Linked DNA regions of Homo sapiens: all the other regions are linked to region 1. Evidence: promoter capture Hi-C in 16 types of primary human blood cells and fetal thymus (Javierre and others, 2016). All regions are on one chromosome and are shown on one strand. The core of a region is centred on a gene start or on the middle of the fragment in contact, and the rest is flanking DNA. Distances in the headings are between cores, read along the strand shown.

Region 1 (2,521 bases), core at 12-2,511:
GGGCAACATGGTGAAACTCCATTTCTACCAAGAGTTAAAAAAAAAAATTAGCCGAGTGTGATGGCATGCGCCTGTAGCTACTCGGGAGGCTGAGGTGGGAGGATTGCTTGAGCCTGGGAGGCAGAGGTTGCAGTGAGCCAAGACTGCACCACTGCACTCCAGCCTGGGCAACAGAGTGAGACCCTGTCTCAGAAAGAAAAACAATTTTGATAGACACAGGTGACCTTTATTCAGTTGATGTAATATCACTGTCAGAACATAAGGCCAGTAGATCAAAATACCAACCTGCTGCATACATGTAATCTAACAATGAGCTTTTATATTATTGGTATCAGTAATAACAGCTGATATTTACTGAGTCTATATTATGTGACTGTCACTAGGTCAAGTGCTCTGTCTGCAGTATCACATTTAATCACCACAGCAATCCTATAATTTGGATATGATTATCCCCATTTTATAGACAAAAAACCTGAAGCTTAGGAAGGAGAAATAAATTGCTGGAGATTACATGGCTACTAAGTGCTATCAATATAGTGGGATCTAGATCTGGTCTGAATCCACAACACAGGCTCTCACAACCGGGTTACACCTCCTCTTAATTGGTCACACCATTTAAAGAACAAAGAAAGAGAATCTCTTATTAGATGGACTGACCCTACTCTGAGTTAGGAAAGATAAAACACTGAGTTGCGTCTCAAAAGGCTTTAGTTAATGAACAGGAAATCACATATTCAGGCTTGAAGCTAAGACTTAACCTTGTAAATTTTCCTGAAGTGAGAGAAATAGTGACCGTGATGTCAGGCAAAAATCGCCACCACGTGTAACCCATTTCTTCCTTGTTTTGCCTTTAGTTAGCTTCAAGTTCTTTTTTCACATTGTATCTTTTAAATGTACCGTACGTGTGTTGTTAACAGCACACTCAGAATCATATCTTGGCATTAAAATTCCACGAAGTCCATTTTGAGAATCATATTACTACACCTATTTTTAGCTGTTAACACAAACCACTCTTTCCATTACACTTTTAAATTATCTACTGATAAAGTGACATTGAAAATAACTCTTGTTGCCAAATAAAAACCCTATATTTGGTTTAATCGGGCCAGACCCATTGACCGGCATTATGCAATTATATTACTAAGGCTGCTACCTGCCCATGCCCCTCTCCTCCTCCTGGTTTGGAACTACCCTCCCCATCTGCTGCTATATTTATCTGCCTTCTTGGCCATAAAAGGCTGGTTGTGTGGCCTGACATTCGACTGCCTGACCACATGCATTATTTTTGAACTGGCCCCCAGGGTCCTGTCTTTAGCCCTGCCTCTTAACATTGTCTTGGATTCAACCTAGGTGGAGTCTTCATTCTCTCATCCAGCTCCTCGGCCTCATCGGAACATTTCCACCACCATTACTCCTTTGGAAACTGGTAAGTGTGACACTGAGGCAGAAGAATGCACTTGATAGCTTATGAGCTTAGCAGCAGTGCAGTGTAAGTGCTTTCTTTCTGTCTTCTGAACTCAGCAGTTTTCTCAAAGAGATGTCAGAATAACAGAGAAATAGGAAAGTGAAGCTCCAGGGAGGGAAACCAGAACAGCCGGGTGCCAGTCGGGCTGGCACAGCTCTTCTCTCACATCACTGTATTCTTCTGAAATTAAGCTGCTGTTCCTGGAACTGTAAGGAGGTCATATCTGCCTCGGATTGAACTGTAAGCGTGTGTTTAATGCTATTTCCAAGTACGGTTTGGTTGAAATCTGAAATGGATGAGAGACAGGAGGCCCTGCATTTTCAATCCTGCATGTGCCATACAATGCTCCCTGGTTACAAATTAGACCGAAAGAAGGAAAATTAACTCTGAAGTCACTAGTTTATAATTCAGGGATCTTGCTGTGACGATGCAATGTGGATAAATGTGAGCGCGCACAATGATATGGCCTCAAATGGTTAAGTAATATTTCAGAGGCAACATAGAGCCCCACATAGTGATTTTTCTGGGAATCGTTTTCATCAGCTTCTGCCCTCTAATGCCTGCACAAAAGTATCATAAATTACAGCTATGGAATTTGTATTTCTTCCTAAATTCTCAAATTATTTTCAGAAAGAAAATTTAGGTCTTAAAGAAACAAAAGACACTAAAACCATCTTTCCTCCCAACGTACTCCAGCCGTCATGTGTTGGAGCTAATCCTGGCTTTAGTTAACTTCAAGGGCTTACTTGATGAAGAGGAGGTGGTTGTACCTTTGTTCCAGAGGTCAGGGCTGTGACAATCAGCAATGTGGGCTTCAAGTCAAACCCTGTTTACTTGTAACTTACTATCTATGTGAGAGGAATAGTAAGTATTATTAAAAATAAATGTATTTGGGAGAAATAGAAATAAAGAGAGTAAAAAATAGTATTGGGGCAAGATATTTAAAGATTTTATTTTGTGAAAATAACAGCATTTCAAGTCATCTGGGGAATGAATTTAGTTTATAACATAACAAGTTTCTTTATTATTTATTTGAAAAATCATTCAAATAACATG
Region 2 (2,521 bases), core at 9-2,508, 390 kb after region 1:
TCCGCCCGCCTTGGCCTCCCAAAGTGCTGACATTACAGGAGTGAGCCACCGAACCAAGCCCCAGCTATTAGCTTTGAACAAAGACTCATCAGAGGAAAAGCTTGTTTCTTATTTGTCTTATTCATATTTTATCCCTATGCCTGGCACAGTTCCTGGTGCATAATACTTGTTTAATCACATAGGTCAAATGAGTGAGAACAAGCAGACAGGCATCTGACTTTTACAAGACAGTTGACCAAATTAACATAATAATATACAGGGGGAAAGTGATGCTTGATTTCGATGAGAACTAAGATCCAGGAATGCTAACTCAGAAATGAGTTGAAAATTCAAACTTTGAACAGAAGACTACACTTTAGTTTTCTCTTGTAACAATTGTAAACAACTGTAATCAATCTAAAGCTCTGTAAAGCTTTGCTTAGGACTTCCTCAACTGTCCTACAAACACATGCACTGTCCCTGCTGAGGCCGACCTCCGGGGACCTTGTGTCTCCGTCTCACTTGTCAGCGACCCTGTGTTACAGAGACCCTCCTGCCTGACCAATGCAGCCAAGAAATGACTATTTTCAGCCTTCCCTGCCCGACTCCAGGGCCCGGTCAGTCCGAGGACAGAATAGTCATCCTCTCCCTAGGCCAAGCATGTGACCCCAGCCTGAGTGCTTCCCGCCCCAATGAATGAGATAATGAGAGGCCAAATAAGGTTTCAAAACACGCATTGCCTCAGAATTACAGTTTTCCTTAACTGTACTTTTAAATAGCTGGGATTAAGAGCCAAGCACTGCCAAATCGCAGCTTAGCAAGAGAGATCTGTCAACTGTGAGAGATAACAAAAGAAGAAAACCCATTTCAAGCTTTGAACTGCTGTTCCTAAATGATTCCCAGAGAAATACAAATAAATTATATCTTTTGAAGGGCAGATTCATGATGAATGATCTTGTTAGATTGGGGTTCCAAATACTTATTCAAGATACTTCAGAATTTTAAAGGAGCACTTTGGGAGGCTGAGGCAGGCAGATCACTTGAGGTCAGGAGTTCGAGACCAGCCTGGCCAACATGGTGAAACCCCATCTCTACTAAAAATACAAAAATTAGCTGGGCATGGTGGCAGGCACCTTCTCAGGAGGCTGAGGCAAGAGAATCGCTTGACCTCGAGAGGCTGAGGGTGCAGTGAGCTGAAATCATGCCACTGCACTCCAGCCTGGGCAACAGAGCGAGACTCTGTCTCAAAAAAAAAAAAAAAGGTAAAGGGAGCAAGTCTTGACCATGAAAATGACTTCATTTAGAGGATGCTGTCCTCCAATCTGCCCCACTCTCCTCCCCAAAGATCTGTGGTAATTTCTCAGAGATAAGCCTTCAAAGACTCCAGGCAGAGCTAAAGCCCCAACTGGAGATACACAAATCCATTTTATCCACATTGTAAGCAGTCTTCAAAAACAGGAATGTTCAAGCCAGAAACACATTGAATTTGCCTGAGAAAGCTGAGTGGAGAAAGCAATTCTTTCTCCTTTCTACCTCTTTCCAGTTACGTGTGATTGGAGGCCCTTCAGCCAGTGTAATCTTTGCCCAAGCTGCTCCTCTGTGTGGGATGGCAGGGCTAACCTCGCTGCCTGGAGAACTTCAGCTCCACCTACAAGACCTCTGTCCTCAGCCCTTCTTTGAAGCTTCTCCGGTGCCTCCAGGCCCTCTCAGATGTTACAACAAATAACTGAGAAAGAATTTATGGTGGAACTTAGCAAATCAGCAACAATGACAAATCAACAAGAAAAAGACAAACAATCCAATAGAAAAATAGACAAAAACTGGAATCTGCACTTCAAAGAAATACGAAACTCAAATGGCCAATAAATGCCAATATGCTCAACCTCATTAATAATCATGAAAGTACAAGTTAATACCTACTTCATGAGTTAATATCTAATACAGTCGGATCATGCTACATGCCTGACAGATGGAAAAAAATTTACAAGTCTGACAATGCCCAGTGTCAGTGAGAATATGGAGAGAAACGGTCATGTGCTCCTGGTAGGGGTACGCTATCATTTGGGCCTCTGTCCCTCCAAATCTTATGTTGAAATGTGATCCCCAAGGTTGGAAGAAGGGCCTAATGGGAGATGTTTGGTTCATGGGGCAGGTCCCTCATGAATAGATTATTGCCCTCTCTGGGGAAGGGGGTCAGTTCTCACTCTATTAGTTCTCATGATTGCTGGTTGTTAAAAAGGAGCCTGGCACTCGCCGACTCTCCTGCTTCCTGTCTTGCCTTGTGACCTCTGCACATGTTGGTGTCCCTTTGCCTTCTGCCATGAGTAGGAAGTAGCCTGAGGCCCTCATCAGAAGTAAGTGCTGGGGCCACGCCTCTTGTATAGCCGGTAGAACCATGAGCCCAATAAACCTCTTTTCTTTATAAATAACCCAGCCTCAGGTATTCCTTTAAAGCAACACAAAACAGACGAAGATAGGGTCTGAACTGGTCCAACTACTTTGGAAAACAGTCTGCATTACTATGTATATTTGAACAGGTGTG
Region 3 (2,521 bases), core at 7-2,506, 350 kb after region 1:
GCCCAAATTTGATGATGTCCCCAATGAAAGCATTCATGACCCTCCTCTGCATGGATAAGAAAGCCCACACTCCCAACCACAGTGTTCTGGACTGAATTGTGTGCCCCCCAGAAAGATATTTTGGAGTCCCAACCCCCAGTACCGGAAAATGTGACTTTATTTGGAGATAGGGTCTTTACAGAGGTGATCAAGTTAAAACAAGTTAAAACAAAGTCATTAGAGTGGGTACTGATCCAATAGGTCTAGTGTCCTTAGAAACCAGGGAAAATTTAGTTAACAGGTAGCTAAAGAAAAAAAGGGTGGTGGGGGAATTTGGAGACAGAGACAGACACACACAGAAGGGAAGATTATGTGAAGAGACACAGGGAGAAGACGGACATCTACAAGCCATGGAGAGAGGCCTGGAACAGATCCTTCCCTCGAAGCCCTCAGGAGAACCAACCCTGCTGATGTCTTGATCTACGACCCCCTGTGGACACCCACCTCCAGGTCCCTGCTCGTGTGTCTTGGCTTACGCTGACCTTGGCCTTCTCTCACATCTGCATATATTCAACTAGAAGCTTCCTTCAAAGCCATAAGACGTCACCACTTGCAAACAAGTTCTCGGATTCCTCCTGGCTGGAAATAACTTTCTTCTACCTCTGAACACCCCAGCACGTTGTGTTTCTCTTACTACAATTCTCATTCCCACCTTTTATGTCGTAATTATTTATGTTTATCTTTCAATTCACTTGCTAGATGTGCACTTCCAGAAGCCAACAGAAAGATCCTTACTGTATCACTGTAGAAACTAGTTCTGGGCCACATGTAGGCTTTGAACAAAAATATTTGTTTAATGAAACAAATAGTCTTCAAATAATAAGTCTTCTTTCAAGCCTGTTGAGCTTTCTGACAATTCAAAATGGCTTATGCTAATTATGAATCCTTAATCCAACATTTTCCAGGGCTATAAATGTGAAATGTTTTTTACTTCATTATGTTTTTATTTTTATTTACTTATTTCTTTTGAGACAGGGTCTGTCACGTAGGCTGGAGTGCAGTGGCACAATCATAGTTCACTGTAGCCTCAACCTCCCCAGCCCAAGCGATCCTCCCACCTCAGCCTCCTGAGTAGCTGGGACCACAGGCGTGCACCACCACGCCCAGCTAATTTTTGTATTTTTGGTAGAGACTGGGTTTTGCCATGTTGCCCAGGCTGGTCTCTAACACCTGAGCCCAAGTGATCCACCTGCCTCAGCCTCCCAAAGTGTCGTGTTACAGGTGTGAGCCACCATGCCTAGTCCATTATTATCTAGTGTTCTATATCTGTAATGTATTTCCCATATCAGTTGTTCTTCAGAAACTCCGAGAAGTATCCTTACTATCAGTAAAAGTTATTTTGCCCACTCTGTATTTCACCACGTCTTCAGCAACTATACAAATGATGGTACACACACACACACACACACACACACAAACACACACACACACACAGAGGAATCTATCCAACAACAAAAAGTAATCAACTACAGCCAGGTGCAGTGGCACACACCTGGAGTCCTAGCCACTCAGGAGGCTGAGGTGGGAGGATCACTTAAGCCCAGGAGTTCAAAAACCAGTCTGGGCAATATAGTGAGATCCCATCTCAAAAAAAAAAATCAGCTACTGATACATACTACAACATGAATGAATCTCAAAATCTTTCTGTTCAATGAAAGAAGCCAGTCAAAAGAGAGTACAACCTGTATGACTCTATTTACATAAAACTTTAAAATATGCAAACTTATCCCTAGTGAGGGAAAGTGGATCAGCAGTTCCCAGGGAGGGGGTACGTGGAGAGAAACTGGAGGGAGAGATTAGCAAGGGATATGTTGATTGTGATGTTGGTTTCACGGGTATATATGTCAAAATATTAAACTGTACAACTTCAAATATGTGGCTTACTCATGTAAATTATACTTCAATTAAGCTTTTTTTTTTTTAACTATGTAATTTCTGCATTAAGGTATTTTTAAATCTCTTCAAATCTGTGAAAGGGAAGTACCAGAGAAGTCTTTTCTTGACTATGCAATAACATATTTCAATTACATAGAAACTAAAATCAGCATCATTAAGTCTTTGTCAAAGTTTCAGAATGTAGGTTTAACTAGAGTTGGTTTTTTAAAAATGTATCAGATTACTCTTCAGACACATAACCAATTGTTTCTGCCTATAGAGAACTCAGGTCTAATATTTACTTTTGTTCTTTTAAAGGTATTGGATCAATGATTAAGGAAGAAAGCCAAACAGGATTAAAAAAAAAAAAAACTCCCTTCAAACTGACATATTGTGTAAAATAACACAAAACATCACAGATGTATGTTAGCATTTTGAAAATACAACAAGAAAAATGTCCAGGACCAGATGGATTCACAGCTAAATCCTAACAGACATTTAAAGAAGAATTGGTCTCCCTCTCCCTCTCCCTCTCCTCTTTCCACGGTCTCCGTCTGATGCCGAGCCGAAGCTGGACTGTGCTGCTGCCATCTCGGCTCACTGCAGC
Region 4 (2,521 bases), core at 14-2,513, 300 kb after region 1:
TGAGCCTTCTCCCATGCAAAGCTTCCCCCAGCTTAAATAGTTGATAAGGACTAATTGTTTAATGAGTTTATTTATCTACAGTAGGTTAGGGATCCTGGGTTCTGTTTATATGAAGTTCTTCCCAGTTTGTGAATTCTAGTACAGCAGCCATGCAGCCACCTTATTTCATAGATGCCATCTGTGTGTCCTCTTGACTACCTTCTATTTAGAGGAAGAATGAGAGCTTTGTGTGTTTAACTGAGCTTATAGTAGGACTTCTTTGCATATGTATGGTACTGAAAAATCTTAATATACATCTTTAATCCTTTTTAGGTTGTCCTTTAAAGAGTTTTTGACTAGTTTCTTTTTCTTGACAGCTCTTCTCTTTGGACACATGGGCCTTCTTAGAGGGTTCAGTCTAGGACCCGGCTCTCCTGGCCCTGTGTTGAGGGTAGCTGGTCCCTCTGTCCCTGTGTCTGCTAGCACTAGACTTTGTTGCTGCAGATTGATCCAGTGGGTACATAGGCTAATTAATGTGAGTCTTTTTCCTTGTTTAAAGGAGTCCCTCTTGCTGAAAGTAGATGATTACTATTGCTGTAGTGTTAGGAAAGTATTAAGTTTGTGCTGAAAATCCATTGCCATTTGGTACAAATGACATTTGTTCTTTCTGTGAAAGAGATGCCCTCGAGTGTGTTTGTACACAAACCCTTAGGATGGTGAGTTGAAGCATCACCCTCGCGCTATCTTCAGTGACGGGTGACGGCTCAGGGAGATGGCAGGCAGATTGGGCTCTAAGTCATTATTCTCTCAGTTACTCCATTGGTGAAATGGCCCTTTCCCTCTTTGCAGTTCAGTCTAAGTCTCGTATTTGCTTTGCTGTCTGTGTGCTGAAGCTCGTCCCGTGTGAGTTGCTGTCTGCCCCTTGTCAGGCTGTGAGGTGCTCGTGTAGACCTGGAGCATGCAGGCTGCCTCCGTTTTTGGGTACTGTGTTGTGTTTTGCTCTGTCTAAAAACATCTGCATAGTTTTCAACTGGAAAAAGAAAAAACTTAAAAATGGGATGTCCTAAAATGAAAGCTGCTCAAAGTCACAGAACAACCGAGGGACAAAGGAGATTGGATGACTGGGAAGCGCTGGCCCGGAACAGCCCCTGCAACTGTGGGGCCTGCACACAGCCCTTCCACAGTTGGCACTGCAGGTGCAGGCCAACCCTTTAAAGAATAAACAAGGAAGTCAGCTCTTTCACTTTTTACAAGTTGGCAAAAACAGACTTCCGGGGAATTTCGATGTTTTCCCGTGTTGTAGAGCTTCCAGGGTTTAATAAAACTGGTTAAAAATTGAGTCTTTCCCTGAAGTAAGTGCTCTTTCCAGATGAAAACTACTCTTTTGGTTTTGTTTGAAAGTAAGAAAGGGAGGGGAAACTTTGCTCTTTTAATAATTATGTTCAGCCTATGATGAAGTATTTGATTATTAGACAGCAATGTCACTAATAAGTTTTAAGTTGTCCAAAGTTAATTGTAAACATCATCAGTACAGTACTCTTAGTTACAGTAAAGCAATTGTTGCAAGATGAATGGCTAATATTTTGGTGCAGTGTTTGATGTTCAAAACAAAATGTTACAACAATAAACGAACATAACATAAACTGAATGCATTTGGCTCTTTTCTTCAGGGGACATTGAAACCATCTTTCTAGATTCTTGCCAGAAATTGGTAATTTCCATAAATTAGCATCTTGATCTTTGCTGACACTTAAATTTGTCTACAGCAGGAGCTCCTTTTTGTTGCTTATTCTTAAAACCTGGCTTCAGAAGTGCAGCTACACCCCCAGGAACTAACCTCTTGCTTTGTACCTTCTGCCAGGAAATGACCCATCCATATGTGACTTCTGCTGTGGTCTCACGGCTGTCCAGGAGGCTGTGTTTACCTCCTCTCCCTAAGCACTTGAATTCCCTGGGAGTCCTGTCCAGAGCCCCTGGACACCCCACCTTTCCTTAAACCCTTCCTTAGGGTGGGTATGATTTAGCAGTCAATCCTGATGTTTTCATCACAGAGTCAGAGTGACCTTTGATCAAAACCACATCGCATATATTACTTACATGGTGATGTTTTGTCCTCTCAGATTGCTGGGCCCTTACCAGATGCAGCATATGCTGAACCCTGCATCCCAAAGGCCCTCCACAGGAGCGTGTGTTCAGGATGGAAATGTTTGTTTGCATGACGTGATGGCAACCATGGGTCTTTGGGAATGCAAAAGAAGAGCTCAGGGAAATTGGTTACAAAGGAAATGGTCTTTACCCAGAGCAGCTTTGAGGGCTTCAGGGGAGCAGTGAACTTTGCATACCTGAGCTCTGAGGACGTGCCTGCGTGTGGCTTCTCTCTGTTTTGCCCCGCACCCATTGGAGTTGGCATGTGTCCTTCCATTTTCTTTCCCGTTTATAGGATGGCATAAGGAAAATACACATTTATCTTTAGAAAGGGGCTGTGGTGTGGATTGGATATGTGCAAAGCTGGGTTTCCAAGCTTACAGGCATGAACGAAGTG
Region 5 (2,521 bases), core at 16-2,515, 270 kb after region 1:
CTTTTTCTCCCTATTCCACATATGACTACATTGACCAGAGTTTATCTTGTGTAGTATGCTTCTCCTTAAAATAAAAAATTGTTAATTTATCCAACAAATGTTGGAATTACTACTCTATGCCACATGCTATGAATACAACATGCCTCTGTTCCTCTAGGGGTTCGTCATTTAGAGTAGGATAAAGATGACCAAAAACCCAGTTTGTTGCCATTTATTTGATTTTTTTCTCTCAGATTTTTCTCATTTAATTATATGTCATCAACATTCTTTTCAAGTCTAGTTCTAAACCTAACTCTGTGCTTTTAATAGCTGCACAGTATTCCATAGTATGGACATACCATAGTTTGTTTAACCATTTTCTTGCTGGTAGGCGTTCAGGTTATCTTCATCCTACAAACATTGCTATAATAGAACTAAGAAATACCACCAGAAACAAAAAGAGCTTTCAGTAAGTAAAATAAAGATCATTGAATTAAAAATCCTCAAAGTCAGAGACCACGACCTCTCATCTGGGTTTCTTTTGGACATTCAGAATATCTTATTACAATTTCTCTGTAAGTGTGTGTTTCTGGTGAACACAGATTTCTCCTAGCTAAATCAAACTTTAGCTTCAGGGTAATATGTTTATCAAAGCTAAGTTCAAAAGCTTAATAAAAAAATAATTACAGAAACCTATACATTTTCAGAACTATTGTTTAAAAGCTTGAGTATTTTAAATTATATGAGGTTAATTTTTTTGTTGTTTGTTTTGAGATGGAGTCTCGCTCTGTTGCCCAGGCTGGAGTGCAGTGGCATGATCTCGGCTCACTACAACCTCCCCCTCAGGTCCAAGCAATTCTTCTGCCTCAGCCTCCTGAGTAGCTGGGATTACAGGCATGCATCACCAGGCCCAGCTAATTTTGTATTTTTAGTAGAGACAGGGTTTCACCATGTTAGCCAGGCTGGTCTCAAACTCCTGACCTCAGGTGATCCGCCTGCCTCTGCCTCCCAAAGTGCTGGGATTGCAGGCGTGAGCCACCACGTTCTGCCTGAAGTTAATTTTTATCTCTATTATGTACCTTCCATTTCCTCTGATGATACAAAAAGGAATGAAACAAATGGCTAAGACATGAATTTACTGAACACCAGACTTGATCGTTTATTTAGTATTAGGAGTTTGACTGCTTCTAAATATTGGGCCTTATTTTCTTCTTTTGAATTCCTACAGGAAGGAATATTTCTTATTTTTAAACATAAATGCTTTATGGTTTAAAAATTTACTAATGTCATTTGTTACACGGTATTGTCTCTAATTGCCTTTCTCCAATTAATTTGGCAAAACATAAGCATTGGCCGCTCTGTATCACTGCATCCTCGCGTCACTCACCTGTCCTGCTGCCCTTTGTCTGATGTAGTGTCCTTAATCTCTGCCTTCTGCTTTTTCCTGTTCTGAATGTTCTGTGTGAGTTCTTGAGAGAGTCCTTTGTAACACCTCCTGAGATTTTTGTTGCTGCTTTGATCTTTGCTTTGTGAAGAATTTAATAGGCTTAGCTTTAATTATGGCTTTGGGGTGTTCCATGCTGACTTGGCATGTCAGTTCCTTCAGATGGACTCAGTTACATGTACCCAAGTGGGCTGGTACTTAGCTGCCTCACAGGGGAAAGACCTCGTCAGAGTATAGTAGGCAGTGCCTTAGTTCAGTGGGACTTTCTTGCCTTTAGGGAATATGTATTTTTTTTTTTTTTACCATGGTGAAAATTTATATATTCAAAATATTACTGCTTTAATTCACTGTCGAGTTTGTCATGGATAACTTTTCTTTCTCCATTCTCCTCAAGGAAAAGCTTCCTGCTTACCTTGCCACCTCACCAATTCCTACTGAAGATCAGTTCTTTAAAGATATTGACACCCCTTTGGTGAAATCGGGTGGAGATGAAACACCATCTCAGAGTTCAGACATCTCACACGTCTTGGAAACAGAGACAATTTTTACTCCAAGTTCTGTGAAAAAGAAAAAACGAAGGAGAAAGAAATACAAACAGGACAGTAAGAAGGAAGAGCAGGCCGCATCTGCTGCTGCAGAAGACACATGTGATGTAGGCGTGAGCTCCGATGATGACAAGGGGGCCCAGGCAGCACGGTAGGACTCTCAGCCTGGGAAGGGTCTTGTGCGGGTACCTAGAGTTCATGTGAAGCCAGGAGCTGCCAGTTTTTTTATGGATACACAGTGTGAGGTTTGGGCTTGTTTTCCCCCTTTACAGTTTATTGTGGAATCAAGCAGCAAAGGCAGTTTCTTTGTTCCTTTCAACTATTCTATAAATATGCTACTGAAATGTCATTTGTAGCAGACTGGTTGTGTTTCTTTTCATAAAGAAGTTTCCAGGAGCCAAATAAGTTCTAAGTCAAAAGATCTGAATTAGTGATTTGCCCCTCGGTGAGCAGATCCAGTTGGACACCATGTCATCTCTGGGATTTCCCTACCCAGTGGCCTTAGGCTTGGTATGTTTTTCCTGAGGAGTTGAGTTTTGTTTTATTGGAATTG

What was found. Contacts are between HindIII fragments. The CHiCAGO score rates a contact against its expected background, and 5 or more counts as called.
Region 2: a contact is called between a fragment that was not itself captured here and the fragment with the promoter of MYOM1 in region 1, in 1 of 17 cell types (activated CD4 T cells). The highest score is 5.8, in activated CD4 T cells.
Region 3: a fragment that was not itself captured here is called in contact with the fragment with the promoter of MYOM1 in region 1 in 10 of 17 cell types (activated CD4 T cells, non-activated CD4 T cells, naive CD4 T cells and 7 more); the score reaches 8.7 in activated CD4 T cells.
Region 4: a contact is called between a fragment that was not itself captured here and the fragment with the promoter of MYOM1 in region 1, in 13 of 17 cell types (naive CD4 T cells, naive CD8 T cells, activated CD4 T cells and 10 more). The highest score is 8.4, in naive CD4 T cells.
Region 5: a contact is called between a fragment that was not itself captured here and the fragment with the promoter of MYOM1 in region 1, in 1 of 17 cell types (megakaryocytes). The highest score is 5.9, in megakaryocytes.

Annotation. Positions count from the first base shown.
Region 1 is chr18:3,218,708-3,221,228 of GRCh38, reverse strand. MYOM1 (myomesin 1) reads left to right here and starts at 1,261. Exons shown (of 38, transcript NM_003803.4): 1 at 1,261-1,426. The HindIII fragment of the contact is 10,525 bases long and covers 481-2,521 here.
Region 2 is chr18:2,824,890-2,827,410 of GRCh38, reverse strand. No RefSeq gene overlaps it. Among named protein-coding and RNA genes, the nearest start is that of EMILIN2, 21 kb to the left of the region's middle. The HindIII fragment of the contact is 810 bases long and covers 854-1,663 here.
Region 3 is chr18:2,868,721-2,871,241 of GRCh38, reverse strand. The region is part of intron 2 of EMILIN2 (elastin microfibril interfacer 2); the gene reads right to left. Among named protein-coding and RNA genes, the nearest start is that of EMILIN2, 23 kb to the right of the region's middle. The HindIII fragment of the contact is 1,388 bases long and covers 563-1,950 here.
Region 4 is chr18:2,916,100-2,918,620 of GRCh38, reverse strand. LPIN2 (lipin 2) reads left to right here. Exons shown (of 20, transcript NM_001375808.2): 20 at 1-1,622. Among named protein-coding and RNA genes, the nearest start is that of LPIN2-AS2, 50 kb to the left of the region's middle. The HindIII fragment of the contact is 2,479 bases long and covers 24-2,502 here.
Region 5 is chr18:2,950,653-2,953,173 of GRCh38, reverse strand. It overlaps LPIN2 (lipin 2), which reads left to right. Exons shown (of 20, transcript NM_001375808.2): 4 at 1,818-2,119. Among named protein-coding and RNA genes, the nearest start is that of LPIN2-AS2, 15 kb to the left of the region's middle. The HindIII fragment of the contact is 1,121 bases long and covers 705-1,825 here.